2 separate regions of the Homo sapiens genome follow, and region 1 is linked to region 2. The links are contacts of gene promoters, found by promoter capture Hi-C in blood cells and fetal thymus (Javierre and others, 2016). All regions are on one chromosome and are shown on one strand. The core of a region is centred on a gene start or on the middle of the fragment in contact, and the rest is flanking DNA. Distances in the headings are between cores, read along the strand shown.

Region 1 (7,651 bases), core at 1,351-3,850, 520 kb before region 2:
CATCAGCTAATTTTTTTCTCTCTTAATGATGCCCCCACTCATTTATAATGATATGTAAGTTGCCATGATGATTTGTGCAGAAAGGAGTGAACTGAACTAGCTAGGAGAGAATTAGGAGTGATGGAATAACATGGAACGAAGTTTATTTATATGTTAGGTTTCTAAAACTTAGTTGTAGATTCACATGCAATTGTAAGAAATAATACAGAGAGAACTTGTTTACTCTTCACCTTGTTTCCCCCAATAGTAACATCTTGTATAACTATAAGTGATACAGTTCACCAACCTTAGTTTTATATGCACATGTGTGTATGTGTGTGTATGTGTGCACACTTATTTCTATGCAATGTTATCACATGTATAGACTTATGTGACCATCATTATAGTAAAGAACAAAATAGTTCCATCACAAGGTTTTTCTCATGCTACCTACTTTTTTAATAACCCCATCTACTTGCCTCTAAATTCCACTCCCTCCTTAACCCCTGGCAACCACAAATCTGCTCTCCATCTTCATAATTTTGTCATAAATTGAATCATACAATTGCTCTTGAGATTGAAATTTTGTGTTCAGCATAATTCCCTTGAGATCCATCAACATTCTTATATGAGCAGTTGTTCCTTTTTTTTGCTGAGTAGCATTCTGTGGTATGAATGTACCACAGTTTAACTATTCATCAAAGGATATTTGGGTTCTTTCTAATTTGGGGCTCTTATTAATGATGCCACTCTAAATATTTGGGTACAGGATTTTATGTGAATATAAATCTTAATTCTCTGTGAGAAATGTCCAGCAGTGCAATTGCTAGGTAGTACAGTACTTAATATGTAGAGTTTTTTAAAGAAACTGTTTTCTAAAGTGACTATAGCATTTTACATTCTCACCAGCAATGTATGAGCAACACAGTTCCTAGTTTCTCTACATCCTTGAATTTGCATTGTCACTATTGTTTATTTAAGCTATTCGAATAAGTAGGTAGTGAAATCTCAGTGGTTTTAAAAAAATTTTCCTACTGGCTAATTATGTTGAACATTTTTCATAGGCTTATGCTATCTGTATATTCCCTTCAGTGAAGTGTTCTTTCATTTATGTTTGGCCCTTTTCTAACTGAACTGTCCTTTTACAGTTGAGTTAGGTGTTTTGTTTGTTTGGGTTTTTTTCAGACGGAGTCACGCTCAACCCAGGCTGGAGTGCAGTGGTGCAATCTCGGCTCACTGCAACCTCTGCCTCCCGGGTTCAAGCGATTCCCCTGCCTCAGCCTCCCAAGTAGCTGGGATTACAAGCACGCATCACCATGCCTGCTAATTTTTGTATTTTTAGTAGAGACGGGGTTTCACATGTTGTCCAGGTTGGTCTCGAACTCCTGACCTCAGGTAATCTGTCCGCCTCAGCCTCCCATAGTGCTGGGATCGCACCTGGCTATAGTACTCTCAATACAGTTGAGTTCTGAGAGTACTTTATATATTCTAGATACAAGTCTTTTGTCAAATATGTGGTGCCTTCATCCATTTTTGTTGCTATAAAGGAATAGCTGAGGCTGGGTAATTTATAAAGAAAAGGGTTTCATTTGGCTCACTATTCTGCAGGCTGTACTAGAAGCATGGCACCAACATCTGCTTCTGGTGAGGGCTTCAGCCTGCTTCTATGCATGGCAGAAAGTGAAGGGGAGACAGTGTGCAGAGATTACATGGCAAGAGAGGAAGCATGAGACAGGGGGAGTGTGCCAGGCTCTTTTCAACAACCAGCTCTTGGGGAAACTCCTTGGGAACTAGTAAAACCATAACTCATTCGTTACTGTGAGAATGGCACCATGCCATTCATGAGGAATCTGCCACCATGACCCAAACGCCTTCCATTAGGCCCCACCTCCAACATTCAGGATCAAGTTTCAACAGGAGGCTTGGAGGGTCAAATATACAAACTATACCATGTGGTTTGCAAATATTTCCTCTTGCATATTTATGAAAATTTTCTCCTGTTAGCTGGCCTTGAAGGCTGTACTGTCTACTCCCATAAGGTCTAATGATGATCCTGAGGTCAATAAGTTCTAAAAAAACAGTCTTTTTTTTTTTTTTTTTTTTTTTACCATCACTAGACTGGTGACCTAAGGAAAGGCAGGACCATTGCAGGTGAGTCCTATTTCTGTTAAAAGCTTATTATGGACTAAGTACTGGGTTGGACCTAAAGGATTAAAAGGCATCCTCTGTCTTCAGAGGGCTAGTTTAGGGAAGGAGACATTTAAATAAACCAAATACTAACGATAACAATCTGGCATGCTAAGTACCAAGACAGTTTTCCCAGGGTATACTTATCACAAGGGAGAGAATCTAAGATTAGGCAGCTTGGGAAGTCTTACTGGAGAATGCCTTTCAAGTACAGTTTAAGGAAACATTTTTTTCATAGTTCACAGCAGGTCCTTTTCCATATTACAACATATTTTCCAATTTGTCCAAATTTAGTTCTACTCTCCTTTCACCATAAATTAATAAAAAAGGCATACACGTGGATGAGGAGCACTTTGATGATTCTCTTTAGGGAGTTCCACATGGTGTTCACACGTTCATGTGTTTCTGTCTATGCATTTTGCAATACCTGCCAGTTAGCTCTAAAACAGTCCCAAGATGGATCTGAGCCCTTGCGGTATCTTGGCACCTTTTATGTAAAGTGAAAATATTGGAATGTCTATCTCACAGGATATGAGGATAAAATAAAATGATAAAATAAAAGCTCTTAAAAGGTGACTGACGCATAATAAATATTAGATATTTTTATTATCATGATGCAAAATCCATTCGTGTTATCTCCAAGTCCACCATCCACACATTATAAGAATAGGGCAAAAGTTATACAGTAACAAATACAGAGAAGGCAAAGGATATCTTACCTAATTTTCCTAACAAGAGGGTGTGAAGATGTCGTGACATCACCATGGATGCAGAATGGCCTTATCTTCACATGGGAAAGTCCCAGTTGTTAGAAAAGGTGCTGTTCATCATAAAAGTTTTAAGGGGAAATGAAAAGGTGGTGAGTGCAAACAAAAGCTTGGGGCAGAGTTGGGGCATCTACTTCAGTGGAACATAACTCATTGTTAGTTTTTTAGCATAGTTTATGGGTCTTTCCTGTATGATAAAAAAGTCCAGGCAAGAAGTGACTGGTGACCACATACAATAATGAATTTGAAAATATTAAAATTGTAATTTTTAAATTGTAATCTTGTCTCTGCAATATATGCTGAGTGTTACCACACAGTTATTATTTTACAGATGAGGAAAGTGAGGCTCAGAGAAGCTAAACCCCTTACTTACTCAAAATCACACAGACAGCAATAGTCAAGAGTGGAATCCCAACTAAGCTCTGGCAGACTGAATCCTAAACTTTCCGTACACCGAAGAGCCACACGTACTGCTGGCTTCCTTCCCTGACTTCATTATTTTGCCTAACATCAATAGCATGAACCATTTATTCATGATTGCCCTCGGTGAAGCCATTTTCTCATTCGTTTAGGGGAAGACATTGTTTTCTTTATTAATGAGAAGAGAAAACGGTTAACAAGAGTTTGTGTCCCTAATTGAAATGATTCTTAAGATGAAAAGATAGAAAAACATGAAACCCTGCTTAAAACAAAAGGCTAAAATCAGAATTTATGGAGATGGATCAATCCAACAGTAAAGAAATCAATTTTTCCTTCCTTGTCGTTACTTATATTCATCTATCCTTTATTTGGCATTAATACTGTCAGGCCTGACAAAAACAACAATTTACATATTAATAAAATCTAGAATTGTGCTGTGCAACGCAGTAGCCACTAGCCACATGTGGCTCTTGAGCCCTTGAAATGTGCCAATCCCGACTAAGATGTGCCATAAGTGTAAAATATACACTGGATTTCAACTAGTATCTAAAAAACAGAGAAAATATTTAATATTTTAAATCGCATGTTAAAAAACCATTTTGAACATAATGGATTAAATAAATTTAAATTAATTTCACCTGGTTTTTGTTTTGTTTTGTTTTGTTTTTTGAGACAGAGTTTGGCTCTTGTTGCCCAGGCTGGAGTGCAACGGTACGATCTCGGCTCACTGCAACCTCTGCCTCCTGCGTTCAAGCGATTCTCCTGCCTCAGCCTCCAGAATAGCTAGGATTACAGGCATGTGCCACCACGCCCGGCTAACTTTGTATTTTTAGTAGAGACGGGGTTTCTCCATGTTGGTCTGGCTGGTCTCGAACTCCCGACCTCAGGTGATCCGCCCCCCTCGGCCTCCCAAAGTGCTGGGATTACAGGCGTGAGCCACTGCGCCTGGCCACACCTGTTTCTTTTCACTCATTTAATGTGGCTTCTCCAAAATGTAAAATTACATAAGTGGCTTGCATTTGTGGCTCGCATTATATTTTCATTGGACAGCACTGATGCAAGATGAAAAAGAGGGCAGAGTTACACTGAAAGGTAGCACATTTTCTTGAAATTTCTGGAGGGGAAGGTTAACGGGAAGAGAACGAAGCTTGTTAAACGTAGGTGTGACCTACTGTGGTAAACACCTAGGGTGAATTAAAGAGGGGACACATATTTTGATTCCGTTTCTACTCCCTTCCCCCGATGCTAACGGAGCAGGTGACAGTCTCCCAGGGACCACTCCTCAGCAGTCCGCGGGTCTCGGCCGGAGCCGAGTCATTGAACACACCTGTGCGCCAGCGAACCCTGGCGCAGGGTCCACGCCCCCTCCCCCCGTGTTTTTATTTCCCGGGCGTCAACTGTCGGTCTCGCACGTCTCTCCTGAGAACTACCGAGTAGGTCGGGCCTGCCTGTGGTAAGCGTCCCCCTCACCCCTCATCCCTCATCCCCCCCAGCCTGGCCCCGGAACCGAGATGCCCCTGCCCGAGCCTGGCTGCGGGCCGGCAGGTGGCCAAGACGCCACTCGGCGGGCGGCCTGCTGGGCCCGGCGGCCGGCCAGCCGCGAACTGGAGGATCCTCGCGGGCGCGTCCCGGGCCTCCGGGCCGCAGGGGGCCGCTGTGACCCGCCTGCGCCCCTGCCGCGCCGAAGGCGGGGAGCCGGGTTTTGGGGGAGAACTGGAAAGCCGAGGGTAGCCGAGCGGGGCGGGCGCTCTGGAGCGGCGGGTGCTCGGGCTGCCGTCCGCTCCGCCAGAAGCACCGAGCAGCCGAGCCGGGGCCCGCCGCCCTCCTCCTCCATGAGGCCCGAGTGAGGCGCGGCGGCTATAGCCGACCCGCGGCGCCTTCCCCCCGCGTCCTATCGCGAGCGCAGCGGCAGCGGCCCCTGGAGGAGGAGGCGGAGGAGGAGGAGCATGTCGGACGGTTTCGATCGGGCCCCAGGTGCTGGTCGGGGCCGGAGCCGGGGCCTGGGCCGCGGAGGGGGCGGGCCTGAGGGCGGCGGTTTCCCGAACGGAGCGGGGCCTGCTGAGCGGGCGCGGCACCAGCCGCCGCAACCCAAAGCCCCGGGCTTCCTGCAGCCACCGCCGCTGCGCCAGCCCAGGACGACCCCGCCGCCAGGGGCCCAGTGCGAGGTCCCCGCCAGCCCCCAGCGGCCTTCCCGGCCCGGGGCGCTCCCAGGTACGGAGCAGCTCTAAGGGCCCCAGTCCTCCTTGGCGAACGCTTCCCCACGGCCCTCCACGCGTGCCGAGGCCCGACGCGCTGTCTGCGGTCCCCACCCCCGGTTCCCCGAAAGCATTCCCCGAGAGGGCCGCGTGACCGGGTAGGGACGGGCCCGGAACCGGGTTTGGAAGGTGTCTGCTGGAATCCTTTGTGCGCCTGGCTGGGGGGAGGGGCCGGGTGCGCGGTCTCGGAGTTCGGGGTCCCGGGAGGAAGTAAAAATCGCCTCCCCTCAGCAGCCCTCTAAAGCGAGACCCTAGCGAGTAACCACCTCTTTTCCACCGACCCCTTTAAAACGACAGAGAGGAAAAAAGCTCGCAAGCACTCATTTGAGAGGCAGGTATGCCCATAACGGAGTCACAGCAAGTCTATTGTTCCTTTTTGTAGGCTGTCTGTACACATTCCGGCGATAACCATAAATTTCATGATGGTTCCTGTTTAACTCTTAAAAACAGACGCTTTTCAGATGGTTTTTCAGTATATAGCAAGTTGCTGTACAAAGGAAAGAATGCATCTGACGCCCCGTTTTTTTTTCTTTTGCAGAGCAAACGAGGCCCCTGAGAGCTCCACCTAGTTCACAGGATAAAATCCCACAGCAGAACTCGGAGTCAGCAATGGCTAAGCCCCAGGTGGTTGTAGCTCCTGTATTAATGTCTAAGCTGTCTGTGAATGCCCCTGAATTTTACCCTTCAGGTTATTCTTCCAGTTACACAGTAAGTACACCCTTTTTCCTACAACTCTGGGTTAATTTACTGGAATAATGTGGTTGTTACTTTGTTAATCAGAGTATGTTTGTGCTTTCTGTACTACACGTAAAAAAATTTTTTTATTGTGAATGTTTTGAATTATTGAACTCAGAAGGAAACAAAGCTGATTCAGAAATACATTTTGTAGTTATATTCAAGGTATTAGAATGTAAGCTTGAGATACACATCTGTGTTCTTGTTTCTAGTGATTATTCCATTATGTTAAAATAGACATAGTTTTGATCCTAATTATTGTATGCAGAAATGTCCTACGGGGTTGTGATAAAGTATTTACATAGGTATAAAGAATGTTTAAACTTTCAGTTTTTCTTTGTCACTTATATAACAACTTTAAAAAATAGTCACTTTTCTTAAATAGCCGTACAAAGCACAGTTGGAATATGTAGAAAGGAATTTGTTGTACTGGATAAACCCAGATGAGTAAATGCATAGGGATTAATTATAGAGAAGTGGGAGGGAATCATTGGAGAAATGATTGATGATACTTTAGCTTAAATCCTGTCTTTCCTATCTTCTTAGTTTTATTGAAGTATAGCAGAGAATAGTGTACTTAAGTGTTAGCTCAGTCTCATAAAGTGAACACTCAACTAACCAGCATCCCAGTCAGGAAATAGAACATTATCAACATCCCGAAAACCCACTCTGTCTCCTTCCAGTTGTTCTTGATGTCCAAGTATAGCACTGTTTTGACTTCATAGGATAGTTTTGCCTGTGTTCAAAGTTTATATAAATAAAGTCATATAGAATATATTCTTTCTCACTTTCAATATCAAGATTACTCCATATTGTAGCATATAATTGGAGGTGACTTATTTTTATAACATTCCATTGCATGAATATATCCCATTTGTCTGTTGATGAACGTTGGTAGCTTTCACTCTTGGGTTATTATGAATAGGGCACATTTTGTGTCTTGCTGGCTGTATGCCTTTATTTCTTTTTGGTATATTACCAAGGTATGGAGTTGCTGGGACTTAGGGTAGCCAGCTTTAGCAGAGACTGCCAAGTAGTTTTCCAGAGATTGTTCCACTGTACATTCTGAGTAGTGTATGATTTCCAGTTACTCTGCTTCCTGGTCGGCACTTGGTATTTTCTGTTTAACCATTCTGGTGGGCATATAGTATCTAGTTGTGGTTTTAATTTATATTTCCCTTATAACTGATAATGACACACCTTTTTTATTACCTCTTTTTGGCTCTCCTTCCATATTTGACAGTAAAAGTATGGAAAAAGCTGTGTTCCATGTTTTAGATACTCCATGATTCTTATGCTGTATAGGAA
Region 2 (7,389 bases), core at 644-3,143:
CAGGGCTGGGCGGGGGGAGCCCGACGCTCCTTGGAGCCGGTGACAGGGGAGCTGCAGGGGCACAGTCTCTTCCCAGCGCCGCCGCACGGGTTCCGGCTCGGCCTCCAGAACGCAGTCCTGTGGCGGCGCCGCCGGCGTCTCTGTCGCAGGACCCCACGGTTTCGCGCGTCGTTGGCTTCTTAGTCCTAGCAAGTTTCGATTTCGCGGTGCCTGGGATTTCCACCCTCTGTCCAAGTAGGGGAATAGCCAAAATGTATTTTCTCAGCCCAAGCAAGTCCTGACTTAAGACAAACACCGGTCTAGCCCTGGCTGCGATATCTAGGCCGTAGGAACTCACCCGTTTCCCCATGCGAAGGCGAAGTTACCCTGTGACTCGTTGGTCAGCAGCTCCGGGTTTCCAGTGGCCTCGGATTTCTAATCATAACAACCATGGGGTCAGCCTAGCCTCAAGTTTCTTAGTCCTAGCAAGTTCCGGTTTCCTACTGGTAAGACTTGCTTTAGCTGCGCAGGAAATGTTTAACTCCTGTGGAAATCTGGGTACCAGCGAATGCTTTTTTTTTTTTTTTAAAGGTTTAGCGATGACCAGTTTAGCAGTGTTGGGAGCTCTTATACCAAGTTTGGTTTCGCAATATCGAGTCCTGTCTTAGCTATGCTTGTGTGTTTTTAAAACTCCCGTGGAAGTCAGGAAATGCCGGCGATCGCGATGTCTCAGTTTTACCAAGCTCCCTTTGACAATAGCAAGTCCTGCCCATCGAGACTTTTTCCTCTTGTAGACCAAATCGGGATGTACCAGCTACTACGATTTTTTAGACGTAGCTAAACACGTTTAACCGTGGATATTTTTGTTTTTTTTCTCGTAGGAAATTATGACAGGAGCAACCTGCAGGGGTTTAGATCTGACAGAAATATTCTAATGGTAGGCATTGCATCGCTTAGCCATATTTGTAATTTCTTCTTTGTAGGGTTGGTTCTCTGTAACTTTTGCTTACCTTAAAATTATTTTTGTGTCTTGCTCTGAGGACAATGTTACCGATGTGTTTTTCATTTTTACTTGCATTTCAGACTTTCATTATTTTAAATTATGTATTTTTTTTTTCTTCTAATTTTGAGCGTCTCAGATTCGTGCTTCTTGACTTTCATTCTCTCAGGAGCCGGGGAGCCGAGCTCGGTCTTAGCCTCGCTGGTATCAGGTTCCGGGTTCTGTCTGGAGGCTCCGCTTCCTATGCAGAGCTGGCGGTTTTGTATCAGCACGTTTGCCAGTGGCGCCCACTGGGCGTTTTCTCAGTTGCTGCACCCAACGTGACATTTCCCGTTCGCGGGGTCCTTAGGTTCTCAGTGCTGTCACTTTTTCGCTCCTACAACCGCTAGTATCTCCTAGGAACTTCCTGAACCCCGTTTTGCCGTGCAGAACGGTGATTGCACCGAGCCGCTGTTCGCACTAGTAATTGTGTGGTACCATTAGCCGGCGCTTTTTCTGTCACAACCCATTAAAACGGGTTAAAACATATTAAACCTATCAAACACATTGAACGGATTAAAACACATTAAATGCCGCAACACATTTTTCTGGTACAACACATTGAAACAGAGTTGGTTCATTCCTCCAAACAGGTTGTTTAGGTGTGGAAGCACCGCTCTTAGTTCTAAGAGCATGCTGTTTCTCTTTAGCAGCACCCTTTACGGCGCCAAAACGGATATTTGTTTGGCAATACCAGCGCTATCCGCTAGGTGCCGGCGCTTGCTAAGTTCAACGCGCCAGTTTCTCGTTTGCAAGGTGGTTAGGGCAGAGCCCTAGCAGACAGTTTTCCGGTGGCAGCAACGCTCATTTCCCGGAAACGGGTGGTTCTTGGCCCTTGCGCGCTCTTGAATACCTGCGTTCTGTAGCGCTAGTTCTCTTCAAGATTTGCTTAGTGTCATTTCATTTCGGTTTCTTTTCTCGCCATGTTTTTCTGTCGGAATTACGGTTCGTTTTGGTTCTATGTACTCTCTAAAATGTTATCGTTTTTCATTTGTCTACTAATTTTCGTGCATTTGTTACTACTGAGTTTCTTAATATCTGACTGGCCTCCGCCCACGGGCTCTGCAGAGCATAAATACTCAGGCTGATGGTAGTGCAGAGACTCTCCCTCCTTGATCAGCGCAAACGTTGGTCTGAGGCTTGAGGGATGGAGCAACATTTTCTTGGCTGTGTGAAGCGGGCTTGGGATTCCGCAGAGGTGGCGCCAGAGCCCCAGCCTCCACCTATTGTGAGTTCAGAAGATCGTGGGCCGTGGCCTCTTCCTTTGTATCCAGTACTAGGAGAGTACTCACTGGACAGCTGTGATTTGGGACTGCTTTCCAGCCCTTGCTGGCGGCTGCCCGGAGTCTACTGGCAAAACGGACTCTCTCCTGGAGTCCAGAGCACCTTGGAACCAAGTACAGCGAAGCCCACTGAGTTCAGTTGGCCGGGGACACAGAAGCAGCAAGAGGCACCCGTAGAAGAGGTGGGGCAGGCAGAGGAACCCGACAGACTCAGGCTCCAGCAGCTTCCCTGGAGCAGTCCTCTCCATCCCTGGGACAGACAGCAGGACACCGAGGTCTGTGACAGCGGGTGCCTTTTGGAACGCCGCCATCCTCCTGCCCTCCAGCCGTGGCGCCACCTCCCGGGTTTCTCAGACTGCCTGGAGTGGATTCTTCGCGTTGGTTTTGCCGCGTTCTCTGTACTCTGGGCGTGCTGTTCACGGATCTGTGGAGCTAAGCAGCCTTAGATAGCAGCAGAAGGCTTTTTGGATTCTCCTCCTTGAAAAGATTCTCAGTTACCAAACGTCTCCACCTAGAAAATAAAAATACATTAAGATGTGCTTTCATTGCTGGTTGTCAGTTTTTAAATTCTCTTTTTCCCTTATGTTTCTTTCTTGTTTCGCGTCGCTTATTACTTTCAGTTTCCTTGTATTTTAAATATTTGTATTTATTTCATTAAATATTTCATTCGTATCTGTTTTCACTTTGAGAAATCTATTTTACGATTGTAGAATTCTTAGAGTTTTTGGCAAATTTAAAATTTGTTTTTTTCCATTGTATTTTAAAATCTTATTCCTACTATTTTTCTAATTATTGCTTTTTAAATGTATTGTTTGTTTACATTTAATTTTATATCATGTCTTTTACGTTATTATAACGTCTTTTTAATTTTAATTGTTAATTTTATTTTTAACAGCGGTCTTTCTTTTTTTCAGTATATCGATTCATTGTTTTACACTCAGGAATTTTATTCACGATCATAAGACTGAGAGGTTTATCAATCTTTGCTATTTCTCGTGGAAGGACCACGCAATTACTTATATTAATACAACTTCACAGATGACCAGTTCTTAAGATTACTTATTCTGGCGGGGCAGCGTGGCTCACGGCAGTAATCCCAGCACTTTCAGCAGCGGAGGCATGCGGATTGCTTGAGCTCAGGAGTTTGAGAAAAGCCTGGGCGACAGGGTGAGGCCTGTGTCTACAAAAAATGCAAAAGTTAGCCCTGTGAGATGGTGTGCACCTGTAGTCCCAGCTGCTCCGGAGGCTGGGGTGGGCGGGTTGCTTGAGCTCAGGAGGTCGAGGCTGCGGTGAGCCGGATAGCACCAACGCCCTCCAGCAGAGCGAGAGCCTGTCTCAAAATAAATAAATAATTGAAAAGACTACTTATTCATGGGTCTCAGGGCTAGCAGTGTTTCCAGCGTCTTTTTCTTTGGAACAGTTTAGCTTGGCTTATAAGAGAACTACCAGTTACTTAATGGTACCACAACTGGGTTTAGCAATTCGGGTAGGCACAGCAGGTCCGGCTTGGCCCTGCCTGCTTTGACTGCCTTTTCGGGAGTTTTAAACCTCCTACACTCGGAATGTAGCCCTGATTGTGGTTTCTCTGCATAGCAAGTTCGGACTTAAGCGGAATAAGTATCGGCTTATTTCGCCTGCGATAAAGATGCTTAATTCTGCGTTCGAAATATTCTGAGCGAGTCCTGGGTTAGGGATTTCTTAGAGTAACAAGTGCATGCTTCGATTTTAAGTGCCCCTGTGAATGTGATTTCTTAGCTCTTGCAAGTCCATATTTGGTCGCAACCAGTACTAGCATAGCCATGCCTGCGACTCCTTAGTCCCAGTAACTTTCGGTTTCATAATAACTTACCCTGCTTTACTTATGCCTGAGTTTTAAATATAGAAGTCCGGGCACGTAGGTGAAGAAGATATTTTAGGAGTAGCAAGTAGCGGTTTAGCAGTGTCTGCAGTCCCTTAGTTAGAAGTCCTGGTGAGACCGAGCAGATACTGATATAGGCCTGACAGCGATATTACCTCTGTGAAACCACATTGTTTAGAAGTGTTTGCATTTTCTTCTTTGTAGAGTCCATTTTTCCATGTTTTGCTTAGTTTTGAATTTTCATTTGATGAATCTTCCCAAATGTATTGTTTTTATTGTGTGTGCGTGTGTTTTTCAGCTAACTTGCCCTTTAAAAAAAAATTGTTCCTAATTTTTGTTTTGCTGACCCTCAGCTTTATGCTGTCTGGTTTGCGCTGGCCTGTAATTCCCGGAACTAAATATTCTATTCTTTTGGCCTAACTGGCCTTTCGTCGATGGCATTACTGCTAGTTTTGCCGCTCTAGGTGCTCCTCGGTGTTAGCACTGCCGGTTGCTTCTGTGAGGCTTGCTAGAGCCCAGGACGCTGAGGTGCTGGGTGACCCCGTTTCGGTGCAACCACTCCGAAGGTTCTCGGTTTATCCAGCTGTGTTTTGGAACAAATGCCAATTCTTCCTGGGAGCAAGTGTCTTTCAGTCGCGTTCCTGGCTGTTTTCTTCAAAAGCAGGCGTTTCTCCTGGTAGCACCGCTTGTTGGCGACGTCGGATTCTTTTCCGTGGCAGTACTGGTCGTTTCATGGAGTGGCCGGTTTCTCACTCGCACTGTGCCGGCTGGCAGTTATTCCGTGGAGGCGCAGCTCTCAGCCGCTTCCCTTGGTTCTCGGTGTCGGCTGTCCCTGTACCTGCGTTTGTGGCGGTATTTCTGTCACAATCGAGTCTGTGTTTTTTCGATGACAACGCCATTCATTTCTCTAAAACAGGCTATGTTTGGAATTGGCAATTTTTCTTTGTCAGAGTCCTTGGTTTCGCAGAGCCTGTTGTTCCAGGTTACTGGACTGCTGTTTGCTCCGTGCTAGCAATGTTGCACCCAGTACCGTTAGGTGCTCCCTGTTGGAGTTTTGAGACAGCGTTTTGAGATAGGTGCACCAGCACTCCAGACCTGGCACCTGAAGAAAGCATTATCATTTCAAGCTCAGTAGGGGCAATAGAATGAGTGGTGTTAGAGAAAGCAAGCAGATGCTTGAAGAAAGGGCCACTCCACAGTATTTTTTGGCTTTTTTTTTTTTTTCACTTTTTTTGAGACAGGGTCTGGCTGTGTCCCCCAGGCTGGAGTGCAGTGGCACAAGCATAGCTCACTGCAGCCTCAACCATCCTGGGTCATGCAGTCCTCCCTTCTCAGCCTCATAAGTAGCTGGGACTACAGGTATGTGCCACCATGCCTGGCTACTGTGTGTGTGTGTGTGTGTGTGTGTGTGTGTGTGTATGTATGTGTGTGTGTGGAGATGGCTTATCTTTCTATTACCCAAGATGGTTTTGAACTCCTGGCCTCAAGTAATCCTCCTGCCTCGGCCTCCCAAAGTGCTGTGGTTGCAGGTGTGAATCACCACAGCCAGCCTATTTTTTACTTCAGATAAAATATTTCAGTACCCTGAGGTCTAGGTGAAACAAAACAAGGTAATAAATTACTAATCCATATCTCTGAACAGCTGTTGTCTTTCAGTGTCTAAACTCAATCAGAAGCCTGGGAGCAAAAGTAGCTCTCCAGTGCAGTCCATACAGGTTGCTTCTTGCAGCGCAGTGCTGACTGAAGAGCCTTAAGCGGATCTAGAGAGGCAGACTGTTACCTAGCAGTGTCTTTATGTTGGTCAACCTATTCACAGTGGTAACTTTTTTATTTTTTTATTTTTTTTTTTATACAATCTCCCATTGAAACCCAGGCTGGAGTGCATTGGCACGATTTCGGCTCACGGCAACCTCTGCCTCCTGGGTTCAAGTAATTCTTGTGACTCAGCCTCCCGAGTAGCTGGGATTACAGGCATGCACCACCACACCCGGCTAATCTTCTTGTATTTTTGGTAGAAACCGGGTTTTGCTATGTTGGTGGGGCTGGTCTCCAACTCCTGGCCTCAAGTGATCTGCCCACCTTGGACTCCCAAAGTGCTAGAATTTCAGTCATGAACTACCCCACCTGGCCCACAATGGTAACTTTTAAAAATGGTCTAACAACAACTCTGTACTCATAATTTCAACAAATTAGATAAAATGCATCAATCCTGCGAGATCCAGTCTACCCAACTCATGAAAAATAATCTGTAAATTTTTGCAATTATTAAAGATATTGAATTCATGGTCAAAAATCTTCCAAAAAAAAAACAAAAACAAAAACAAAAAACCTAGAGGTTCTTACCATTTCACTGACTAATTTTACCTAATATTCAAAGAATAAATAACAAATTCTACACAATTTATTCTAGAAAATAAAAGAATATGGAATACTTCCCAACTTATTTTATGAGATCAGCATTTTCCTGGCAAACCGAGGACACTAAGAGAAAACTACTGACCAAGATTGCACCTAAACATAGATGCAGAAATCCTCACCAAAATACTAACAAATAGAAATCAGAAATGTATGTTAAAGAACAATACCATGCCCAAGTAAGGTTTATTCCATATATAAGTCTGGTTTAATACTCAAAAGTCAATCAGTATATTTCACCCTATTGGTAGGCTCAATGAGAAACACTGTATAATCCTGTCAAATGATGCACAAAAAGCATTTAAGAAAATCTATATGCATTCGTGATTTAAAATTTAAAAACTAACTCTCAGCAACGTGGGAATAGAGGGATTTTCATCAACCGTGCAAAGAACGTCGACAAAAACCTGTAGCAACATTGTATGTAATAGTGACAGACTCAATGCTTTTCTCATGAAATCAGGAACAAGGCCAAGATAGTCGCTCCAACCATTTCTATTCAACAAGGTACTGGAATTGTTCGCCAGTGCAATAAGGTGAGAAAAGGAGTAAGAAAGCATATACATTGGAAGTGAAAAAATGAAACTATTCATACATGCAGAACATGAGCCTATGGAGAAAATCTTAAAGAGTCTAGAAGAAAACTTCCAGAAATTATGAGTTTAACAAGGCCTCAAGATAGAAAGGTGCAAACCTTCAGAGGGAAAAAGTTCCAGGGCCTCAGAACAGGAGAATTTCCTGCAGTAAGTTCTCAGGTCTGCTGCCTGTTCACCGGATTTCCTGTAGGCTCAGCCTGTGAGTCACCAGCCATGCAC

What was found. Contacts are between HindIII fragments. The CHiCAGO score rates a contact against its expected background, and 5 or more counts as called.
Region 1: a contact is called between a fragment that was not itself captured here and the fragment with the promoter of ANXA2R in region 2, in 1 of 17 cell types (naive CD4 T cells). The highest score is 5.1, in naive CD4 T cells.

Annotation. Positions count from the first base shown.
Region 1 is chr5:43,554,495-43,562,145 of GRCh38, reverse strand. PAIP1 (poly(A) binding protein interacting protein 1) reads left to right here and starts at 5,069. Exons shown (of 11, transcript NM_006451.5): 1 at 5,069-5,564; 2 at 6,147-6,316. The coding sequence starts at 5,300. RefSeq lists a silencer at 4,774-5,633. The HindIII fragment of the contact is 889 bases long and covers 2,156-3,044 here.
Region 2 is chr5:43,034,823-43,042,211 of GRCh38, reverse strand. ANXA2R (annexin A2 receptor) reads left to right here and starts at 1,893. Exons shown (of 1, transcript NM_001014279.3): 1 at 1,893-2,841. The coding sequence starts at 2,166. The coding sequence ends at 2,747. The region is part of intron 2 of ANXA2R-OT1 (ANXA2R overlapping transcript 1); the gene reads left to right. It overlaps ANXA2R-AS1 (ANXA2R antisense RNA 1), which reads right to left and starts at 78. Exons shown (of 2, transcript NR_015447.1): 1 at 1-78. RefSeq lists enhancers at 1-34, 2,240-2,289, 2,300-2,709, 2,730-2,779, 2,471-3,011 and 1 more and a silencer at 1,630-1,899. The HindIII fragment of the contact is 14,499 bases long and covers 1-7,389 here.